Linked DNA regions of Homo sapiens: all the other regions are linked to region 1. Evidence: promoter capture Hi-C in human tissues and cell types (Jung and others, 2019). All regions are on one chromosome and are shown on one strand. Each heading gives the region's core, a stretch centred on a gene start or on the middle of the fragment in contact. The rest is flanking DNA. Distances are from core to core; before and after follow the strand shown.

Region 1 (2,993 bases), core at 206-2,705:
GGTTCAAGCGATTCTCTTGTCTCAGCCTCCCCAGTAGCTGGGACTACAGATGCACGCCACCACGCCCGGCTAATTTGTGTATTTTTAGTAGAGACGGGGTTTCACCATATTGGTCAGGCTGGTCTCGAACTCCTGACCTCAGGTGATCCATCCGCCTCAGCCTCCCAAAGTGCTGGGATTACAGGTGTGAGCCACTGCGCCTGGCCCAATAGAGGCACGTTTGTCAAGCTATTGTGAGTAACTTTCAGAATGTTTTTGTTCTCAAGATACGGGATCATGGTGGGGGAGGCATGCTGTGTATTGGAGTGCAGACATGGTGTGTGTTGGGTTGCACACTGTGTATTGGGGTGCACACTGTATTGGGGTGTAGATGTGTGGGGGCGCACACTCTATTGAGGTGCACATTGCATTGGAATGCAGACAGTGTTTGCTGGGATGCACATGTGCTGTGTTGGGGTGCACACTGTACTGGGGTGCAGACATGGTGTGTGTTAGAGTGCACAGTGTATTAGGGGTGCACACTGTATTGGGGTGTACACTGTACTGGGGTGCAGACATGGTGTGTGCTGGGGTGCACACTGTATTGGAGTGCACACTGTATTGGGATGCTGATGTGGTGTGTGCTAGGGTGCATACTGTGTATTGGGGTGCAGACTGTATGCTGGGTTGCACACTGTGTATCGGGGTGCACTGTGTTGGGATGCTGATGGTGTGCTGCAGTGCACACTATTGGGGTGCAGATGTGTGTGCTGGGGTGCACACTGTATTGGGGTGCACACTGTATTGGGATGCTGATGTGTGTGCTGGGGTGCATACTGTGTATTGGGGTGCACACTTCTTGGGGTGCAGACTGTGTGTTGGGTTGCACATTGTGTATCGGGGTGCACTGTGTTGGGATGCTAACGGTGTGCTGCAGTGCACACTGTATTGGGGCGCAGATGTGTGTTTGGGGTGCACACTGTATTGGGGTGCACACTGTATTGGGGTGCTGACGTGTGTTCTGGGGTGGACACTGTGTATTAGCGTGCTGACGTGGGCTGTGCTGGGATGCACACGTGCTTCGCTAACAGGCCAGGGCCCGGCAACAGAAGCTTGCACTGTAAACGCTCCTCCCGCGCGGCGGACACAGCTCCAGGCTGGTACCGCGCGCACACGGACGCCTCGCAGGACCTGGGCTAATAAGGAGAGGAGATCGGCACGGTACCGCCTCTTCCCACGGCCTCCCGGCGCGGCACCGCCCTCCTCCCTCCACCCCGGGCCTTCCCCGCCCCAACCTCTTCGGGCCCTGGTTCTCCACCCTTGCCGCGGGCGACTCGAGCCAGGCCAAAGGGAGGCGCTACCTGAGGACTGCTTCCGGGAGTGGGCGTGGCCCCAAGGGCGTGGGCGGGGCGGGGCGGGGCCGTGCTGCTCTTGAGCGACCGGCAGCGTACCCGGCGTGGCTCCCGTCTCCGCCCAGTCGTAGGCGCTGGCCGCTGACATGTTGAGGACTACGCGCGGCCCAGGCCTGGGCCCCCCGCTGCTCCAGGCCGCGCTGGGCCTTGGGCGGGCTGGGTGGCACTGGCCTGCGGGCCGGGCGGCGAGCGGGGGGCGCGGGCGGGCCTGGCTGCAGCCCACGGGCCGGGAGACGGGTGTGCAGGTGTACAACAGCCTCACCGGGAGGAAGGAACCCCTAATCGTGGCGCACGCCGAAGCCGCCTCCTGGTGGGCCGCGCGGGACTGGGGCACGGGCGGGGGCCGATCGTGGCGGAGACTTCCCACGGCTGAACGGGATCTGGGCTCGGGGAGGGCGTTTAGGAAGCTGCATGGAGGGCGCCGTTCTAGAAGCTGGGGGTGCGCGGTGCTTTTGCAGGTTTGGGTGTGAATTGAGCAAGTATGAAAACCCCGGCTATTCATCCCCCAGAAGTGATTACTTTAAAAATTATATGATCATTATAACTCAGAATCGAATGTCCTTTCTTGCAAATATGTTCCACACGATGGATTTTAACTTTGTTTCCAGGTATAGCTGTGGACCAACTGTATATGATCATGCGCACCTTGGCCATGCTTGGTGAGTTTCCTGGATTTGAATTTTCATACTTCAAAGGACCATTTATTTTTGAAAGCCTTTTGCTGATTTCTTTTATCTCTTAAGTGGCAACTTAGGGATGCAGAATAATTCCTACATTCCAGGCATTGTGGGAAATGTTACAACCTCATTTGGTTCTTATAGGGATTCTGAGCACTTACACCCGTTTTACAGGTGAGGAAACTCAGGGAGACAATGGAGCACTGAAAAATGACCCGTTTTGGAACTAGATGTTTTTTGCTGGGTTTAGTGACATCAAGAGGCCTTTGCGGGGTCCCGGGGTCCTGCTGATCAGTCATTCCTGGGCCCCACCACTTCTTAGCTTCACAGCACTGAGCAGGTCACTTTATTGCTTTGAGTCCTGGTTTCTTCATCTTTGAGATGGGAATGATAACTTGGATCTTATAACAATTTTAGTAAATAATGCCCATAAAATGCTGCTTAACACTGTACCTCACATGTGAGATGTCACGGGGCTCAATAGTGATTGAGTAACTTTCCTAAGATGACACATTGAAGAGGTATTGGAACTGGGGTGAGGCTTGGTTTCTCTGACTGCGAAGTGGTTGCTCTCTTGACCTCTTTAACTGTAAGATGTACTGCCTCCTACATTTGCCAAAATTACCACTTTTCCTAATATTTTGTACATTTCCAAAATATAATGTACAAAAATGACATATTATAGATTTTTTAAAACTTAGTATTGTTCAGTCCTAGACTAAAAGTAAAAAGTTACATTTACTCTGTATACTTTTTTTTTTTCTTGAGACGGAGTCGCTCTGTCGCCCAGGCTGGAGTGCAGTGGTGCAATCTCGGCTCACTGCAACCTCTGCCTCCCAGGTCCAGTTGCCGCCTCCTGGCAGCAATTCTCCTGCCTCAGCCTCCGGAGTAGCTGGGATTACAGGCATGTACCACCACGCCCGGC
Region 2 (2,993 bases), core at 163-2,662, 110 kb before region 1:
CCGAGCAGGACGTTTCTCCACTGAGACACACATAGTGGAAAACACACAGGAAAAGCACAGGAATTGTTGCATACCCTGCAGGTGGTGCCTCCTGTGCAGGGGCAGGTCAGGGTGCCCACAGGTAGGGGCATGTCACCCGGGGGTGCATATGCAGGTGTTTGTCCTTATTCTTTTTCCTTAAACAGATATGCAAATTTTATGTACTCTTTTATATGTATAATCTATTTCCAACATAAGGGGAACAATAATAAAACATTTAGTAAGAATTATGTATTATTTTTCTTTAGTGTTGATCCTTGAGGAAACATTTGCTGTACAAGAAGAGGAAGAAGAGGCTGATGAAGACTACTTTTAAGGGGATTAATTGGTATCCTTGAGGGCTTTTGGGTCTGGTGTCACTGGTTGCTATTTTTATCTTTTCCAAGCCTATGGTCTTATTTTCCTTGCTACACCTTAGTAATGACTGTGGACTTTGGGGCATGTGGTTGTGGGAAGCAGCAAGAGGGGGAGCTGCCAGCCAGGCCACTGGCAGGGACTCTCATGGGACCTGCCAAGCCTGTAAGGGCCTCCTCACAGTGCCACAGAAGCCTCGGTTCTTGTAGAGGGACCACTGCCATCAGTGTTGTCCAGCCTCAGCCCCACCTCCACCCAACTCACACCCAGCAAGCAAACTCCAATCCCACGGCAATGATCATTTGGCCCTGCGTATAGCTTTGCCTTTAAAGAAGGAGCAGGGGAGCCCCGGCCGCTTCTGTCCTGTCCAGTTGGTTACAGTTCTTGCTGTAAATTAATACTCACTTCAGATTCTTGTGAGTTCTTTTAGCAGCCATTCTTAGGTGCTTGATCAATTATTCTATATTATCTACTGACTTCCTGGGCCTACAAAATTGAAGCCAGACCCTGAAATGTGGCAATACCACCCTGTCAAGGCAAACATCACAGTGGGAACATCACAGTGGGAACAGTTGTCGCAGGTGACAACTGGCCTTCCTCCCTGCCTTTCCAAGGGGTTGTTGGAAGGAGCTGCTGCAACATTTCCATTCTGCAGATGAGAGAACTGAGGCGGCAGGGAGGTTGGGTAAATTGATCAAGGCCTTTCAAGCTGGAAGTGGCCACACAGACTGGTTTCAAAGTCAACATCAGAGTGAATGGCAGATGATGGGGCCCCTGCTGTTCGTGTACCAGGAGTGTCTGTGAATCAGAGCTTTGTGGCTTGGGGAGTGAGCCTGCCACACATTTTTGGTGAATTTGACGGTGGAAATGTTCCAGCATAGACCCATCTTGTTTTTGCATCATTCCCCCTCCTGCCTTGATTAGAAGATGCCCAGCTGGTCCAAAGGCCCCATGACCGCTGCTTCTGGGAAGCTATTTAGTCACTTCCCACAGCAATATTTGTTCCTTAAGCAAATAGAAATGTATCCATTTACACGTTTGTGACCACAGGGAAAGGCACCTGGCGCTCAGGAATAAAGCTCCACCCTCTCTTTTCACCAACAAGGACACAGAAGGGTTACGAGGCCATGAAATGCACTTGCCATTCCTTCCTTCACACTGTTCTGAAAAGCCTTCTTAACCGTAACCTACCCTACAGGCCTCTCAAAAGGAATCGATGGAAAGTCCCTTGCAGGACGTGAGATATTGACTAATGTTGCAAAAACACACCTACTTCTGAAAGAATTATCTGGTTACCAGAAGACTTTCCCTTCTGGAAATTCTCCAAGGCTGTCCGGCCCCAGGGCGGGGGTGAATCGTAAAGTACCAAGGAGCCCAAAGCCTTAGAGCACCTGGCTCAGTGGTTAAAGAAGGAAAGATGCAGATGACAGGTTTGAGGCTGGGAAAAAGAGGGAAAAATTAAAAAAAAAAAAAAAAAAACCGCAGAGGCCGGAAAGATCAGATACCTAGGAGCAGCTGACAGAAAAGAAAGCTTCAGATGTGAGCAGCAGGAGGGCAGATGCTACGGCAAGGAAGCCCCTTCTCAGACACAAAGCCCTCCACAAAACGATCCTCTAGGTGGACTTTCTTCTGCAAACATTACCCCATCCCCAATTAGAAGGATTCAGAGAATTGAATTAAGGGTTTTGAGCATATTAACACATTGAATATTTGGAAGGAAAACTAATAAAAGCTGTCTCTTACTATATTACCCATCATGGAATGGAATGCATATACACCACTGTAATAGCAGGTTCTCTAGAAGGAAACACAAACAAAAAACCAGAACCAACAGGATATGTGTATATGTATATATAGAGAGATTACTTTTAAGGAATTGGCTCAGGTGACTATGGAGGCTGGTAAATTTGAAATCTGCAGGGTGGGCCAGCAGGCTGGAGACCCCAGGAAGACCGTGTCTGCAGCCCCTGCTTGCTCAGGGAGGTCAGTCTCTGTTCCATTCAGGTCTTCAGCTGACCCGGGGAGGCCCACCTACTAGCAAGGGCCATCTGCTTTACTCAAAGTGCACGGGTTTAAATGTTCATCTCATCCAAAAACATCCTCACAGGGACATCCAGAATGAGGTTTGACTTCACGTCTGGGCCCAGCCACATGGACACATAAAATTAAGCATCGCAACCATGTAGACGCTACAGCTGTGACCGCTGTTGGTGGATTTAGTGTGCGCCAGCGTCATCTAAGCTTCATGAGGACGGGGATTTTTCTTTTTCTTCACTGCTATGTTTCCAGTGCCTAGCACTTAATAAATAAAATAAAATAAAATAATAAAATAAAAACACTGTTGACCACATGACTGTGTTGCTGTTGTTTGGGATTAGTGTGTGCGGCTGTGCATGCATTCATTTGGGAATTGGTCCCTCTGCTGGACAGACACTAAGGTGGCACCAGGGTCCCCACCTCCTAGTGTGTTCATATCTTGCTGAAATCCTCTCTCCTTGATGTGGGGGGATCTGTGACTTGCTTCTGATCCACAGAATATGGTAGAGGGATAGCACGTCTCTCCCATGATCCAGGTACATTCCCTGGCCTCCACCCACAGC
Region 3 (2,993 bases), core at 355-2,854, 95 kb after region 1:
TTTACTTAAAGACTTGGAATCAGTAGAAGGAAGTGTCTGGGTTAAGATAAGGGGTTGTGCAGATGAGGCCTCCAGGTAGCAGGCTTCAAAGAGAATGAATTGTAGATGTTTCTTTTTGTTGTTGTTGTTGTTTGAGACAGAGTCTCACTCTGTTGCCCAGGCTGGAGTCCAATGGCACAATCTTGGCCCACTGCAACCTCTGCCCCCCAGGTTCAAGCGATCCACCCTACTCAGCCTCCCAAGTAGCTGGAACTACAGGCGTGCACCACCACACCCGGCCAATTTTTGTATTTTTAGTAAAGACAGGGTTTCACTGTGTTGGCCAGGCTGGTCTCCAACTCCTGACCTCAAGTGATCCTCTGCCTTAGACTCCCAAAGTGCTGGCATTACAGGTGTGGCCCACCTCACCTGGACTTTGTAAATGTTTCTTATCAAACTTCAGGTGCCGGACTCTTAGTAAATTATCTCCTGGATCAAGAAAAAGACCTGGAAAAGGAAGGGGAGTCTCCTCAGAATGTAGATGTTTTTCCCCAAAGAGACAGTTTTGCAAGGCTATTTCAAAATATGCCAAATGAATATATTTGGGGTAAAATACTCCAGTTTCTTTCAGGGCTTGCAATCTGTCACATTGGTATCTTATTGCTACAAAAATTCTGCTTTGTCAGTCTTAAGGTCTCTGTTTTAACGTTAATGCTGGTCAACTGTGCCTGAATTCCAAAGGGAGGAGGGTATAATGAGGCATCCATCCCCCCTTTCCATCTCGGCCTGAACGAGTGTTTCAGGTTTACTGTAAAATGCCCTTGGCACCCTCCCCAGCCTCTGCCTCTGTCATCACATGATGGTCTCCTTGTCCTCACGTGGGATTTTCCTCTCCTTTAAGGACACCAGTCATATTGGAGTAGGGCCCACCCTAATGATCTCATCTCATCTTAATTCAATAATCTATAAAGACCTCACTTCCAGTTACGGTTATAGTCACAGGTACTAGGGGTTAGGATTTAACATATTCTGAGGAGACACAACTCAACCCATAATACCTTCTGTTAATAAATTAACCTCCCTGCTTTCCTACAGCAATAGAATGATCTTTCCTATAAGTCAGATCATGTCACTCCTCTGCATAGAACCATCCAACTGTTTTCCATGACACTCAGATTAAAATTAAGGTGCATTCCATCACTCTCCGACCCCTATGTGATTGGCGCCCCCAATCACCTACAGCTGTCGGAGGTCTCCGGAGGGTCTCTGGATGCCACTGAGACCCCAGCCCCAGCCAGTTTCCAAGTTCTTGACACCAGCATGAGAAAGAATTCAGGGACACGTCAGAATGAAACGAAAGGCAAGAAGCTTTTACTGCAAAGCGAAAGCACACACGTAAAAGAGAATTGCGGGCGTGCTCAGCAGAGTGAGTCACATCAGAGTTTGAGTTTCTAATTTTATGGATTTTTTTTTAATTAGGGGGTGGAATAATCATAAGGTATTCTGGAAAAGGAGTGATTTCAGGGACTCCCTCCCCCCATTACCACAGACTTTTACCCTTATTCAAGTTTTCCCAGGATCATGGACATATCACCCTGACCAGGATTTGACCATTTTCTCTTCCTTATTTTGGGTTTTCTGTTAACCTGCGGTTTCTTTGCCTCGTTCTTATTCTAGCTGTTGTTTGGGTTTTTCCATCCTCCTGTGACCACCCAGTGCTATTCCCATTTCATTTTCCCCCTTGGAGATTTCCATCCCTTCTTCTTTTATTTATTTTCTTTCTTTCTTTTTTTGAGACAGGGTCTCACTCTGTTACCCAGGCTGGGATGCAGTGGCATAATCATGGCTCACTGCAGCCTCCCCTTCCCAGGCTCCAGCGATCCTCAGACTTCAGCTTCCTGAGTATCTGGGACCACAGGTGTGTGCTACCACGCCCGGCTAATTTTTGTATTTTTGGTAGAGATGGGTTTTTGCCATGTTGTGCAGGGTGGTCTCAAACTCTTGAGCTCAAGCGATCTGCCTACCTTGGCCTCCCAAAGTGCTGGGATTACAGGCATGAGCCACCTACCGTGCTCAGCCATTCCATCCCTTATTCTTGAGGGAGATGAGGGAGGAGGTCAGTCTTCCGTGTCATCTTCCTGCTGATTTAAGAGCACTGGCCCTGCCTACCGAGGGCATGGGAATCTCCAGCTGCTTGATCTAAGGGTCCCCAGGGGACAGCAGGAGCGTCTGATTCCAAGACAGGAAGCAGCTGGAACCCTAGCTTGAAGATCACCTTTACCTAGATCTGCTGTAACCAGAGACAGGCACTTTACAAGCAAGTTGAATATGCATGGGCCAAATATTAACGATGAGCTCACCCTTAACGGGCCCAAAAGTGGTAAAAACCAGGTACTAGAAGGTACAGCAGCTTTAACAGCATCCCACATAAAATCAGCAGGAGGGTTTTTCTTTTCGAGGGTGCAAAGGCATTTTGCCTGGTCATTTGTGCCTGAATTCCAAGGCATGGGGGAAAGTGGAGTGAGGCGTGTCTGACCCCCAGCTTTCCATCATGGCCTGAACTAGTTTTTCAGGTTTTTTTTTTTTTTTTAATTGGATCCCCTTTGGGCAAGAGGCGTGTCCATTCTACTAGGGAGGATGCAGATTTTTTTTAGTTTATAGTCCGCTTTTTGTAAAGGTATGCCAGAGGCAGTGTCAATGGCCAAGCTTTTATTTTGTCCCATATTGATGCCGGGGGGGGGGGGGGGGGGGGGGGGTGCTACCTGTGCCAGGTCTATCATGTCCCTCAGTGGGACCCCTACGGCTAAGGGACTTAGAGTCAAAAGACTTATAACCAATTAATTATTCTAAGCCAAATGGAATGGAAGTGCGCAGGCACTCATTAACCTTCGAATCTCTTTTAAGCAACATAAGAACCAAAAACCAAAAGCCAAAAGACAAGGTAACATAATTGACTTATTTATAAATTATGTGCATTGAGCCACCATAATCTGGTTTGTAGCAATTAGCTATAC

What was found. The method cuts DNA at HindIII sites, captures the fragments that hold promoters and counts their contacts. A contact is called where the count stands out against the background at its distance.
Region 2: a fragment that was not itself captured here is called in contact with the fragment with the promoter of CARS2 in region 1 in 10 of the 25 tissues and cell types used here (IMR-90 fibroblasts, bladder, dorsolateral prefrontal cortex and 7 more).
Region 3: a fragment that was not itself captured here is called in contact with the fragment with the promoter of CARS2 in region 1 in 7 of the 25 tissues and cell types used here (IMR-90 fibroblasts, aorta, dorsolateral prefrontal cortex and 4 more).

Annotation. Positions count from the first base shown.
Region 1 is chr13:110,704,578-110,707,570 of GRCh38, reverse strand. CARS2 (cysteinyl-tRNA synthetase 2, mitochondrial) reads left to right here and starts at 1,455. Exons shown (of 15, transcript NM_024537.4): 1 at 1,455-1,701; 2 at 2,000-2,050. The coding sequence starts at 1,478. RefSeq lists enhancers at 528-647, 658-1,037 and a silencer at 1,088-1,647. The HindIII fragment of the contact is 14,015 bases long and covers 1-2,993 here.
Region 2 is chr13:110,814,261-110,817,253 of GRCh38, reverse strand. All of the region lies in intron 1 of LOC105370362 (a long non-coding RNA gene), which reads right to left. Among named protein-coding and RNA genes, the nearest start is that of LINC00567, 2.7 kb to the right of the region's middle. RefSeq lists an enhancer at 888-1,411. The HindIII fragment of the contact is 5,787 bases long and covers 1-2,993 here.
Region 3 is chr13:110,609,745-110,612,737 of GRCh38, reverse strand. No RefSeq gene overlaps it. Among named protein-coding and RNA genes, the nearest start is that of NAXD, 4.3 kb to the left of the region's middle. RefSeq lists enhancers at 1,424-1,924, 1,925-2,425. The HindIII fragment of the contact is 4,503 bases long and covers 1-2,993 here.